Regions from separate parts of the Homo sapiens genome. Here region 1 is linked to region 2. The links are contacts of gene promoters, found by promoter capture Hi-C in blood cells and fetal thymus (Javierre and others, 2016). All regions are on one chromosome and are shown on one strand. The core of a region is centred on a gene start or on the middle of the fragment in contact, and the rest is flanking DNA. Distances in the headings are between cores, read along the strand shown.

Evidence for each region. The method cuts DNA at HindIII sites, captures the fragments that hold promoters and counts their contacts. A CHiCAGO score of 5 or more calls a contact.
Region 1: a contact is called between a fragment that was not itself captured here and the fragment with the promoter of KLF4 in region 2, in 1 of 17 cell types (monocytes). The highest score is 5.7, in monocytes.

Annotation. Positions count from the first base shown.
Region 1 is chr9:107,630,958-107,637,681 of GRCh38, forward strand. LOC105376205 (a long non-coding RNA gene) reads left to right here. Exons shown (of 9, transcript XR_930217.2): 8 at 649-722. Among named protein-coding and RNA genes, the nearest start is that of KLF4, 140 kb to the left of the region's middle. RefSeq lists enhancers at 1,343-1,980, 6,056-6,604, 6,605-6,724. The HindIII fragment of the contact is 1,230 bases long and covers 647-1,876 here.
Region 2 is chr9:107,486,088-107,492,304 of GRCh38, forward strand. It overlaps KLF4 (KLF transcription factor 4), which reads right to left and starts at 3,682. Exons shown (of 5, transcript NM_004235.6): 1 at 3,081-3,682; 2 at 2,843-2,963; 3 at 1,208-2,180; 4 at 941-1,105. The coding sequence starts at 3,085. RefSeq lists silencers at 2,494-2,543, 3,195-3,394, 3,754-3,963. The HindIII fragment of the contact is 11,219 bases long and covers 1-6,217 here.

The DNA of each region.
Region 1 (6,724 bases), core at 12-2,511, 140 kb after region 2:
TGGCAGAAAAGAGCAGGACCCATAGTGAGTTAAAGAGAGGGATACTTTTTTTTTTGAGACAGAGTCTGGCTCTGTCACCAGGCTGGAGTGCAGTGGCGTGATCTCAGCTCACTGCAACCTCCAACTTCCTGGTTCAACTGATTCTCCTGCCTCAGCCTCCCGAGAAGCTGGGATTACAGGCAGGCGCCACCAAGCCCAGCTGATTTTTATGTTTTTAGTAGAGAAGGGGTTTCACCATGTTAGCCAGGATGGTCTTGATCTCCTGACCTCAGGTGATCCAGCTGCCTCGTCCTCCCAAAGTGTTGGGATTACAGGTGTGAGCCACCACGCCTGGCTGGAGAGGGATACATTTTTAAGACTCACATAGAGTGCTGTTGCCCAGGAAAATGAACACGACTTGTCTAGGGTTAGGATGTCTGGGTTCTCCCTCAGCATGGTGTCTCACCAGCTCTGTGACCTTGGGCAAGTCCCTGTCCCTCTTTGGGCTTCCCCACCCCCACTTCTACAAGGAGCTGAAATTATGCGGTGGTTCTCAATACTGGCTGCATATTAGAATTGACTGAGGAAATTTAAAAAATACAAATGATCAGACCCTGTTCCCTAGAGACTCAGATTACATTGACTTTTTTTTTTTTTTTTTTTTTAAAGCTTACCAGCTAATTCTTAAAAGCAGTGAGGTTAAGAAGTATCCAATCACATGATCTTGGACACTATTCAGCTCGGTGAGTCTAACCGAAGAATGGCCCCATTTAGACCCCAAGGGCCCCCTGGTGAGACCTGCCTTCCATCTCTGCACTCTAAGTCACCTGCACATGCCTCGTGGTCCTGGACTTGAACTTAGGCTCTAGGGTAGCAGCAGAGGCGGTCTTCTGCTGAGGCTAAGAAGCAGAAATGCAAAGTCTGTTGAGAGAGGGGGATGGGTAGGAGCTGTGTGAGGAGGAACAGATTGAAGCTATTAACATTTGATCAGTTTGGTATTGTTCTTCTGGAGACCACAGCTTATGCGGCTGCTTAATAAATGTCTGGTCAGGGTCCAATCCAGAGCTGCCAAATGGGTGTTGCTATGGTTTCCGAGGAGTTTGTTTCCCACACAAGTTACTGCTTCCCACCCCAAACTGTGAAACACCAGAGTCTTCCCTCTGCTCCTTAACTCTGTCCCTTCCTAGAGGAGCCTGTGGTGAGAGAGAACATCTGCCTGGGCCTGGGGGACACACACGGGTCTCGTGTGACTGGCCGTCAGTGGCACCTGCCTGTGCCAGCTCCCTGAAGCAGGCCTTGTGCCTTCCCACTCTGTGCAATTTCAGGTGGGCCCATCGCTCAGCTGGTGTCATCTCAGCCTCCCAGATTTTAGGGTCTCTGCATCTGACCCTGTTGTCCTTGACTGGAGAAGAGGGGTGGTCAGAGGCTACGTTAGCAGGCAGTGTGTTTGTGTGTGTGTGAGTGTGTGCTTGTCAACACGAGCCAGTGTGGGGGTTCTCGTGACTCAACACGTGAAGATAAATGTGTGAATGTGTATGGATGAGTGTGTGTCGGTGCTTGTGTGTACTTGTCGGTGTGCGGAGTATGGCTCTGTGTTTGTCAGTGTGTATGTCTGGTGATGTATGTGTGGATGGCAAGAACTGGGAGTGAGCACGGGCAATGCTGCTAAATCTGAAAATGTATTATGACAGATTTACAATAAATGAACACTTACAAAGTCCAACATACAAACACTCGTGTAAATGCCATCCAGCCTAACAGATAAAATGTTACCAAATACAGCTTAAACTTTCCCTGCGTTCTTTCCTGATTGTATCTCCCTTTTCCTCCCTTTTCCTCCTGTTGTGAATTTGTGAATTGATCTTTCCCAGAATGATACACTCTGTTTCAATAAGTAAGCTTCTTCCAGTGTTGAATCTTTCTCTAAAACATAGTCAATGAAGTGTGAGTATGGTGTGTATGTGCGCAAGCCCATATGTTGGGTGGCTGTGAGTTGTTGGGGAAGACTGGAGAAAAAGAATTTGAAAGTGCTCTCAGCATGCAGTGGCATCTTCTAGATGTGTGACGGAAGGGAAACTTCCTAACCTCTCTGAGACTGTTTTTCATCTATAAAATGAATGAGATGAGAATGAAATTATATAAGATGTGTGAAAAGAAATGGCACATAGTTGGAACTCAACCAGTTCTGATTTTTTTAAAAAAATGTATCTATTAAAGAGGAGGCAAGGCCAGCCAACCTTGCAGAAGGAAAACAAACAAATCAGACATACATTATTCAGGGGAGGTGGAGGTGTGCTGGCTTGAGCTGGATCCTTCCCTCCCTCTCTTTTTCTTTTTGATTCCTTAGGACTTTCCTCTTTTGGAGCGGTGGTATGTCAGCACAGTGGAAATTCGAATAGGGGCAGTTTTTGTCCCAACAAAGGACTGGACTGTGATGGAAGGTCCCCTGCCTGTTCACTGCTAAATAGAACTGCATGTAAATAAGATCATTTGAGCTGTGGTGGGTTTTGAATACACAACCATCAAGGTAAATGAGCATTCCAAAGAAATCCTGGCTCTCAGACAATGCCTGAGTTAAAATGAAACTTGCTTGAAAATTAAAGCCAATGTTCAGGCTTCAGGTCATGTGAGGAAATGGGAGGCATTTGCCGGTTCATTCACCCATGCGCTCATTCACCTAGCTGCATCCTGGATTTACAAAGGTGGAAAGGATCATTCTAGCAGGAGAGAGAGAGACAGTGAGGAGTTAAAGATAAGACATTTGCTGCTATCTCGGAAAATATACAGCCTAAGTGGAAACGCACAGCAACCCTCCCTTGCTTCTGTTCTGACTGTGTCTACTATGTGCCTCAGACCGGCTAGACACCAGGAGGAACAGAGAAGCTGAAGACATGACGTGCCAACCAGCTAATGTAAAGATAGGATAAGTGTGAATAAAGAGTTGACAGAGGAGGGTTAGAAGGACACTGCCATTTATTGAGCACTCACTTTGTACCAGGCACTATGTGGGGGTCTGGTGGGTTGTGGGGGTAGCATTTAGCCTAAATTAACCATTGCAACAATTGTTGAGTCAGTATTATTATCCCTGTTTTACAGGTGAACAAACTGAGTCTTAGAGGGGTTAAGGTCTTTGCCTGGTAAACATCAGCACAGGGAATCAAATCCAAGTGTTTCTGACTTTCCAGCCTAGCACTGGTTTTTGCAAATAATTCTGTGGCAAGAACTATATGACTAGCGTGAGGTAGTTTCCAGTGAATAAGAAAGCAAGAATCTGGCCGGGCGCAGTGGCTCACGCCTGTAATCCCAGCACTTTGGGAGGCCGAGGTGGGCGGATCACAAGGTCAGGAGTTCGAGGCCAGCCTGGCCAATATGATGAAACCCCGTCTCTACTAAAAATACAAAAATCAGCTGGGCATGGTGGCGCATGCCTGTAGTCCCAGCTACTCGGGAGGCTGAGGCAGAAGAATTGCTGGAACCCGGGAGGCAGAGGTTGCAGTGAGCCGAGATCGCACCACTGCACTCCAGCCCGGGGCGACAGAGTGGGACCCCATCCCCCCGCACCCCCCCCCAAAAAAAAAGGGAGCAAGAATGTGGTACTGACATGAGTACTGAGAAAATCCAAATCCAATGCAAGATAAAATGTTTTGGTTAGCATTTATCTAAGAAAGTTTTGGAAAGCAAGTTGTATATTTGGCTTTGAAGAAGTAGTCCTTTCATTCCAGGAACCTCAGCTTTGTTATTTTCTGAGGCTATGGTTTAAATCACATATTCCTGGTACATTGTGAAGAAGTTTCTTGAGACAAAGGCAAGAGGGAAAAAATATGATCTGTCATGGCATGGGAGCTGAAATTCAAGTTTTAAAATCACTTCTAAACAGCTCTGAGCTTCTATGATTTGCTAGAATCACAGAAAGACTTATGTAGCTCAAGTTGGAGAAAGCATGTCAAGATTGCTAAGGCTGCAAAGAGATTTTTCAATTCCTTTTTAGTTTTTAAAATTATTATTAAATTAAAAAAAAATGAGCCCAAGATGAGCTCCACAGTTTCCTCAGACGGGATTAGATATGACTTTCAGGTTTTCAAAGTTCAATTCAATTTGAGTTTCCTGTGTCCTAAAAATGTCTTCAATTAAAAGCCAGAAAAAAATGTATTTTTTTCATCTTCATCAAACTGAAGAAAAAAAATGGCTGAAGGGATTTTATTCAAACTTTTCCCCAAAATTCACCTTTTGCCAAGACCCAGCATGGAAAATTTCAGCGCAAAAGGATCACTCTTTGGCAAGTTCCCTGAGCTAATGAAAACAGAGGGGCATAAAGGGAGTCTGTGTGCAGCTCTAACTATAGTGGTCACTGCAGCCCACATTGTGTGAGAAGAAGGGCCTCATTCAATAACCCCCCTTTTAAGTCTTTTTTATCATCAATATGGATGAGACTTAGATTTGACGTGGTCACCAAACAAAAGGCCCTCACTTTATGAATACAATCTGGGTAATGGCATTATTTCAAGTGGCTTCGCTCAGTTATGACTGGCTTTGGAATAGTTATTGTTGATTCATTCATTCATTCATTCACTCACTCATTCATTGTACAAGTATTTACTGAGTGCCAGCAATGTGTGAGGCACTTTAATACATGTTGGGAATGCTATGGTGGCAGGCATAAGCGAGGCAGTTCCTGCATTCGTGGGTTCGTGGGAGGAAAAGAAAAACAGATTAAATTACAAACTGTGACAAATTCTGTGAGGCAACAGAAGAGGGTGCTGAGATAGAGAAAACCGGGTTTTGTGGTGATAGGAGGCCTACATTGTACTGGAGGCTAGTGAAGGTCTCATATGCATTCATTCATAATTTAGCAAACATTTAGTGAGTGGCCGCCATGCTCTGGAGTCTATACTGATCTAGACACCATTTTTGCCTTCAAGGTGCTCCTAGACCAGTGGGAGAGCAGGCAGGTAAGTAAAAAGCTCAGATGCTGGGTGACAAGCGCTTTAAGGCAGGCATGTGCCATATCTAATGTGGAAACAGGAAGGAGATCTAAAATGCTGCGGTTGGTGGTGGTCAAAGAAGGTTTCTCTCAGGGGGAACGATTCAACAGACATTTGTGATAGTTGATGTTTGGCAAGATAGAGGTGAATGAGAACTAGGGCTGCTTTCAAGGAGTCTGAAGTCCAGTCTTGCTTCCGGAGTCACCTCTTTGAGAGCCTGGATCCTGTGGTGTCTGACCCGCCTCTCCAGTAGTAAGCATGGAGCTTGAGTCAAAAGAGGTGCTTAGTAAATAACAGGTCCCTTTCTCTGACATCTCATGGCACAACTCTTTGGATTTAGTCTAGTGGTGAAGAACTTGGCTACTGCAGTCAGATTGCATGCGTTCAAATTCCAGCACCCAGCTGTGTTACCTTGGGCAGTTTTTCTCTGCACTACAGTTTCCCTACATACAAGGCAGGGATGATAATGATACCTGCAGACTAGGGTAGTTATAAGGACTAAATGAGATCATGCTTATATGATCACTAAAGATATGACCAGCATACCTCATCCCAATGTGTTTTTAAGTGCTGCTTATCACCTTCCACAACCCACCCCCACCCCCCATTCACTCAATCCAACAATTATGGATTGAGTATTTTCAGTCTTAGGCATTGTGCTGGGTGCTTAGATTCAGAAAAATCTTGCCAGACTCCGGGGTCTCCATCCCCATAGATGGTTAAATTCCCAAATCTCCCAAAATGGAAGTTCTTTGCCTCTTCTACCCAGATAAATAGGTATTTGCTATCTCTGGATTAGCGGTGAATGTCTGTTCATTTTTCATCAGCACATCTGGTTTTTAGGTGAAAAGCTGCCAGGAATTTTGAAACATCTTGTTACTTTAGACATCAGAAGGCAGGGAGATTTCCCATTATTAAATGGATGTGAAAACTTCTTTGTGCCCCAGGGCTAGGGCAAACCTGAGATTTCATAGGTCAGTGAAAGCTCACCATCATTGTTTTTGCTTGGTAATAATTTTATTTAGGGAGGAGGAAGAAGAGAGGGTAGGGGGTTTCCAGAATGATAAAGCAATGTGCCAATGTCATGCAGTTTCGAGAGGCCACTGAGGTGGTAGGGAAAGCATTGCCCATGTGTGGCTCCATCTCCCCGAGCCTCAGTTTCCCATTGTGTAAGATAAGGATAACAGAACTTCCTGTGTAGTGTGGGTTGAGGTTTCAAGGAGAGCATGAATGTGGAAACACATCAGTGCCTTTTGCCTGCTAAATGCTTCTTGTTTATTTCCAGCCCTGCCACATGTTTGCAAATCTTTGCAATGTGCAGTTGGAAGGCAAAGTGGGGATAGAGAAGGCAGATTTGATTTGAGAGTTTGTGCACACAGTGGTGGGTCTGAGTTGGGGGCCTGGCTAGAAACAAGTGGCTTTTTTGGTGGCACCTTGTGCGCCTTCTCTTGAGACAGAGGCTCTGTAACCCCCCTCGGCATCAAACTTCGCACTACCCTCCCTTTGCCACGGCATCCTTCCTTCTCGTCTCCCGGGAGGCCGGACAGAGAACCCAGGCCCAGCCCCAGCCCAGCGAGCCTGAGCCAGACTGCCTCGGGCCGGTCTTGCTCGGCCTCCCTGGGGAATCTGGGAGGCTCAGCCAGGCCTGAGTCGGCCTGGGTCCCGAGGTCAAGGTCGGGGTCAGGGTCGGGGTCCGGTCGTACGCCCTAGCACTGCCTGCGGTGGGGCGCGCACAGTCGAGCGCGGGGCCTCCCCGCAGGCTG
Region 2 (6,217 bases), core at 2,432-4,931:
AAACAGAAATACATTCCGTGCTTAAGTATTTGGTCTTGTTTTTAGGGGGTCAGTTAAGCACACAACCACCACCTACACCTATACTAATGTTTCACCAAAAACACACAAACACCACCTAAACCTATACTAATGTTTCATTTGAGTCAAGGCATCTCAGTGGTGGAAATGAAATTTGGAAATTGTGATTGGTAGTGTGCCCAAACCATGCAATCTTATTCCTACTACGACTGGGGATAAAAAGCCACAGGTGGCTACTTTTTTTTTCTTTACCTTTACGTTACTGAATGCTGCACCTAAACGACTTTGGGTACCTACTTACATTGACATGGAAATGCTCTGCAGTGACAACCCTAAATCAGAATCTTCCCAGCAATTTTGACCATCATATTCTTGGAATTTAAAATAAAACCTTCTGCTTGTGGGGGAAAAAAAATAAAAATGTAAATCAAAACGAACAAAAAATAAAAAATAAAAAAGTAAGACCGAATTGTTACGACCAGAATTCAAAATAACAAAAAGGGAGGGTGAACCTGGGAAGGGAACATTAAAAAACGATTTTTTTAAAAAAGCCATCATGCTTTTGCATAGCAAAGTATAATTTCTTGATTATAATGCCAAGCTAGGAGAGGCCCACAGACCGCGGGGAATCTCCTGCCTTTTAAAAGCCTAACAAAATTGCACATTCAAACACAGATACCATCCATCAAGCAAAAGGCTCCTGGGCAGAAAAGTAGGCGCCGGTTTGCTGTTCTCTCCAGTGATCCCGGAGATCAAGGCGATAGACTGCCCTGGGAAGCCAAGGAGGCACTGAGGAGTGTCCACTGGTAGCCTATGGGGCTGGAAGCTAACCTGGGAAGTCAAGGAGGCACTGAGGAGTGTCCACTGGTAGCCTATGGGGCTGGAAGCTAACCCCCCTCCCTTCTGCAGTTTGTCCCCCTACCTGTGTGGGTTCGCAGGTGTGCCTTGAGATGGGAACTCTTTGTGTAGGTTTTGCCGCAGCCCGCGTAATCACAAGTGTGGGTGGCGGTCCTTTTCCGGGGCCACGATCGTCTTCCCCTCTTTGGCTTGGGCTCCTCTGGCATGCAGGAACCGGGTGGCATGAGCTCTAGGGGTGAAGAAGGTGGGGTGAGCATCATCCCGTGTGTCCCGAAGTGGGGCCAGCACACACAGGGCTCCCCAGCCCGAGCTACAAATCCCCGGGACTGACCTTGGTAATGGAGCGGCGGGACTTGCGGCTGCATCTGATCGGGCAGGAAGGATGGGTAATTGGGCCCCGGGTGGGGATGGAAGCCGGGAGGAAGCGGCAGGGCAGGGTGACAGTCCCTGCTGCTCAGCACTTCCTCAAGACCCAGGGTCGGGGTAGTCCTGCTGGGGAGCTGCCGCCCCAGGGGGAAGTCGTGTGCAGCCGGCCGGTGGCCATTGCTGAGAGGGGGTCCAGCGCCCAAGTGGGTGCACGAAGAGACCGCCTCCTGCTTGATCTTGGGGCACGTGCGCGGCGGCCCGCCGTTGTAGGGCGCCACCACCACCGGGTGGCTGCCGTCAGGGCTGCCTTTGCTGACGCTGATGACCGACGGGCTGCCGTACTCGCTGCCAGGGGCGCTCAGCGACGCCTTCAGCACGAACTTGCCCATCAGCCCGCCACCTGGCGGCTGCGGCTGCTGCGGCGGAATGTACACCGGGTCCAATTCTGGCCGCAGGAGCTCGGCCACGAAGCCGCCCGAGGGGCTCACGTCGTTGATGTCCGCCAGGTTGAAGGGAGCCGTCGGAGGGGGAGCGGACTCCCTGCCATAGAGGAGGCCTCCGCCCGTGCCGCCCGGCGCCACGCCCGGGTCGTTCCCGGCCCGGATCGGATAGGTGAAGCTGCAGGTGGAGGGCGCGCTGGCAGGGCCGCTGCTCGACGGCGACGACGAAGAGGAGGCTGACGCTGACGAGGACACGGTGGCGGCCACTGACTCCGGAGGATGGGTCAGCGAATTGGAGAGAATAAAGTCCAGGTCCAGGAGATCGTTGAACTCCTCGGTCTCTCTCCGAGGTAGGGGCGCCAGGTTGCTACCGCCGCAAGCCGCACCGGCTCCGCCGCTCTCCAGGTCTGTGGCCACGGTCGCCGCCGCCAGGTCATAGGGGCGGCCGGGAAGCACTGGGGGAAGTCGCTTCATGTGGGAGAGCTCCTCCCGCCAGCGCTGCGGGGACAGGGCGGGAGAGACCTGTCAGTGGTGGTCCCCTGTTGCCACCCGACATACTGACGTGCTGGCGGGCCACGCGCGACTGCACCGCCCAGACATGGGGACTGGTCAGGCAGGAAGCACCCGGGAACCCAGGGCGCCAGCGCTGCAATCTCGGCCCACTCCCGGGTCGAAGAAGAGGTGATGCGTCTGTATTGCGGGTGTTATGTCCTGTCTGCCCAATTGCGTGTGAGCGAGCGCCGCGGCTGGTCCCTCCCCCTCCAGGTCCCGTGGACGTCCCCGGAATTGGCACACCGAGGCTCTCTCGGTGCGCTCTCGCCACGGGGCCGCCTACGCGCTAAACTCACTCTGGCCCAGCCAGTGTCTGGGGACGCGGCCACCTCCCGCCCGGTGGCCCGAGAGCGCCCGCCCTACCGACAGCGCGCCCGGGGACTGGTGAAGACCCGGCTTGCGCCCCAGGCGGCTCCGCAGTGCTCGCACCACGGGCATACACAGCTGAGCCAAGGACACGGAAGCTATCCCGGGAAGGTTGCGGAGTCCGCGCGGTGGCCGCTCCTTACCCTCGTTCAGTGGCTCTTGGTGACCCCAAGGCTCCGCCCGCCCCCACCACACCCACGAAAACCCACCGGGCGTTCCCGGCGGCCCGGAGCGATACTCACGTTATTCGGGGCACCTGCTTGACGCAGTGTCTTCTCCCTTCCCGCCGGGCCAGACGCGAACGTGGAGAAAGATGGGAGCAGCGCGTCGCTGACAGCCATGTCAGACTCGCCAGGTGGCTGCCTGCGAGCAAGGCAGGGAGCGGAGACAGGAGAGTCAGGGGCGGCTTTCGGCCGTCGTTCCGGCGCGTCCCACCGGTCCTCACCCCTCCCTGCTCCCAGCGCCGCGCGCCTCACCTACCTCATTAATGTGGGGGCCCAGAAGGTCCTCGGCAGCCCGAAGCAGCTGGGGCACCTGAACCCCAAAGTCAACGAAGAGAAGAAACGAAGCCAAAACCCAAAACCCCAAATTGGCCGAGATCCTTCTTCTTTGGATTAAATATAACTTGGAAGCGTCTTTTTTAAAAAGTTCCTTTGTATACAAAAGTTCTTAGAAAAGTTGTAAACGCAAAAATAGACAATCAGCAAGGCGAGTAAGTAGGTCCGGTGGCCGGGCTGCGCTCTCTTCCACTCAGCAGCGTCCCCCACCACTGTCGCGGTCGCCTCGAGTGCTGCCGTGGGCGCAGGGGCTGTGGCCGGGGCGGTGGGCGGGCGGTGCCGCCAGGTGAGACTGGCTGCCGTGGCGCGGAGCTGCGAACTGGTCGGCGGCGCAAGGCGCGGACTCCGGTGAGTTGTGTGGAGCGCGCGCGGCCATGGGCGCGGGCCACGGGCGGGTGGGAGGGTGGGGGGCCAGAGGGGCGGGGGAGGGTCACTCGGCGGCTCCCGGTGCCGCCGCCGCCCGCCACCGCCTCTGCTCCCCGCGCGCCCGCAGACACGTTCGTTCTCTCTGGTCGGGAAACTGCCGGCCGCCGGCGCGCGTTCCTTACTTATAACTTCCTTCGCTACAGCCTTTTCCTCCGCCTTCTCCCATGCCCCGCCCCTCCCTTTCTTCTCTCCGCCCCCCCCGAGGCTCCCTTCCATCGTTGCTATGGCAGCTAAATCAACAAACTCGGCGCACGTGGGGGCGGGGGAGGGGAAGGAGGGGCGCGGGCGGGGCTGGGCCGGGCCGTGACGCCAGCCAGGCAGCTGGCGGGCTGGAGCCGAGCTGACGCCGGCGGCAGTGGTGTCGGCGGCGGCGGCGGCGTCCGCCCCAGCGCGGGGCGCGAGGAACCGGGCGCAGGTTCGGTCGCTGCGCGACCAGGGCCGTACTCACCGCCATTGTCGGCTCCCTGGGTTCGAAGCCCGCGAAGACTGGTGGGGTCAGCGGGCGGCACGGTCACGCGTCCGCACCCCTGCTAGCATACGCGCTTGCCGCGCTGTCTGCGCGCTGGAGAAGAGCGCGATTATCCGCGTGACTCATCCAGCCCTCCATCTCCCCCTCCCTCTCTGCGCTCGCAGGAGTCCGCTCTCGTCGCTCAGCGCCAGTGCCGGTGGCGGTGCCGGCGCTCGGCCTGACCTCGCACGGTTCCTCGCGGGCCCTTCTGCTGAGGGGTGGGGGGCGCTAGGGGTGTGGAGAGGAGGCAGTGCCCAGCACTGTGCAGCGTGAACTGGGAGCCTCAAGAGAAGGCCAGAGGAGTGTTCCGCCGGGAACAGGCGGAAAGAGGCACGAATGGGGAGTTATGGTTTTGATACTTTAAATAGCGAGAAAGGGAGTGAAAGGGCTCAAGATTTACTCAGAGGCATAAGGGAGAGAAGAGGGACTGTGAGGCGCGGAGACAGTTTTCAACCAGCCATCTCGAAGCCCTTTCCTTTTTTTTTCTTTCTTTTTTTTTTTTTTGTGAGACAGAGTCTCGCTGTGTCGCCCAAGCTGGAATGCAGTGGCACGATCTCAGCTCAGTGCAACCTCCGCCTCCTGCGTCCAAGCGATTCTCCTGCGTCAGCCTCCCGAGTAGCGGGGATTACAGGCGTGCGCCACGACGCCGGCTAATTTTTGTATTTTTCGTGGAGACGGGGTTTCACCATGTTGGCCAGGCAGGTCTCGAACACCTGACCTCAAGTGATCAGCCTGCCTCGGCCTCCCGAAGTGCTGGGATTACAGGCGTGAGCCACTGCCTGTAATATTTGATGACTAAATTGCACTGTAGAATAATAATAATAATAGAAGACACCCATTAAAGAAGAATTAAACACTCACTGATGACTTTTCAAGCCACGCACTCTCCTTTCCACTTTATGGATGAGAAATTGAGTCATAAAGAGGTGAAATGGCCAGTAAAGGTCAAAGGACAACTCGTTCCTTCGGCTCAGGCTCCGGGTAGGTCAGGCCCCCCTAAAGGGACTTCCCTGGGAAGTGACCATGTGCCAGGAAGTGGAGCGATGCGGTGGGATCCTAGCTCTCAAAAAGTGCACACCGAGCCCGCCGCAGGCGTCCTTGCCCACCGGGAAGGGAATAGGAAACGGCGATCTTTACTTCAATCTTATAACGCTGCCTCCCCCACCCCCACTCTCCCCTTGGTTTGTGATCAGTAATTTTCCAGCTGGGAAATGTTTTGCTCTCATCTTCTTAGCAAACAGTATTTTTTTTTAAAACGTGAATGTGGTGTTCGGTATCACTTTCTAAACGTAGGTTTGGCGAGGTGTTTACTTTGGATTCCGGCGTTCGGCGCGGGACTCCGCCCCCCTCTCCACGGAGCCCCCTCACCGGCGAACGCTGGCGCTTAGGCTGGTGTCAACCTAGGAAAGAGAAGAGAGGGGACACTGGGGAAAGTGGTGGAAGCTCGGGCACCGGGCAGAGAGTGCGCTCACCCCTTTTTGAGTTCTAGTTGCCAATGTCCTTTGTCGTTGTCACCTGTTTGAACCCTGCGATTCTGGTACCTATTAGGTTTCCTCAGAATATTTGTGATACCTGATTTTTCCACTCCTCGCCGACCACAGAAGCATTCTTGGAATGCATCTCGCCCCGAATGAATTGACTCGGCCCTCCCTGCCAACGCCAGGAATCCCTCTAAGATCCAGAGTCGGACGCCCTTGAGTGTGACTTCCATCCTCTAGCTTGGCTCTGGCCAAGGGCTGCCAGGGTTGCAGCTGGGGGATGAGAGTGTTTTGGCAGGGAAACCGAGGTCCTCCTTCCTATGACCTCGAGGAGTTCAACCCCACCCCCCTATATAGGATCAGGCCAGTTACTTTAACTCTGATTTTTACTTTAAGCCCTTTTCAAACGGAGGAACCAAAAAAGGAAGACACCTGCCACTTCCTCCCCTACTCCTTTAATTGTGATGGCAACATCTTGGGATGCTGTGATTTGAGGGCTGCATGGGAAACTCACCACTTTTTCAGGAAAGCCAAAGTCCCTCACCCTGGATGAACAGTGGATGAGCCCTTGATTGGCAGCCATCTCCCTTGGGATGTAAACGTGGGTCAGGACTTGGAATTTCCAACTTAGGTAGGCAGCACACTAGA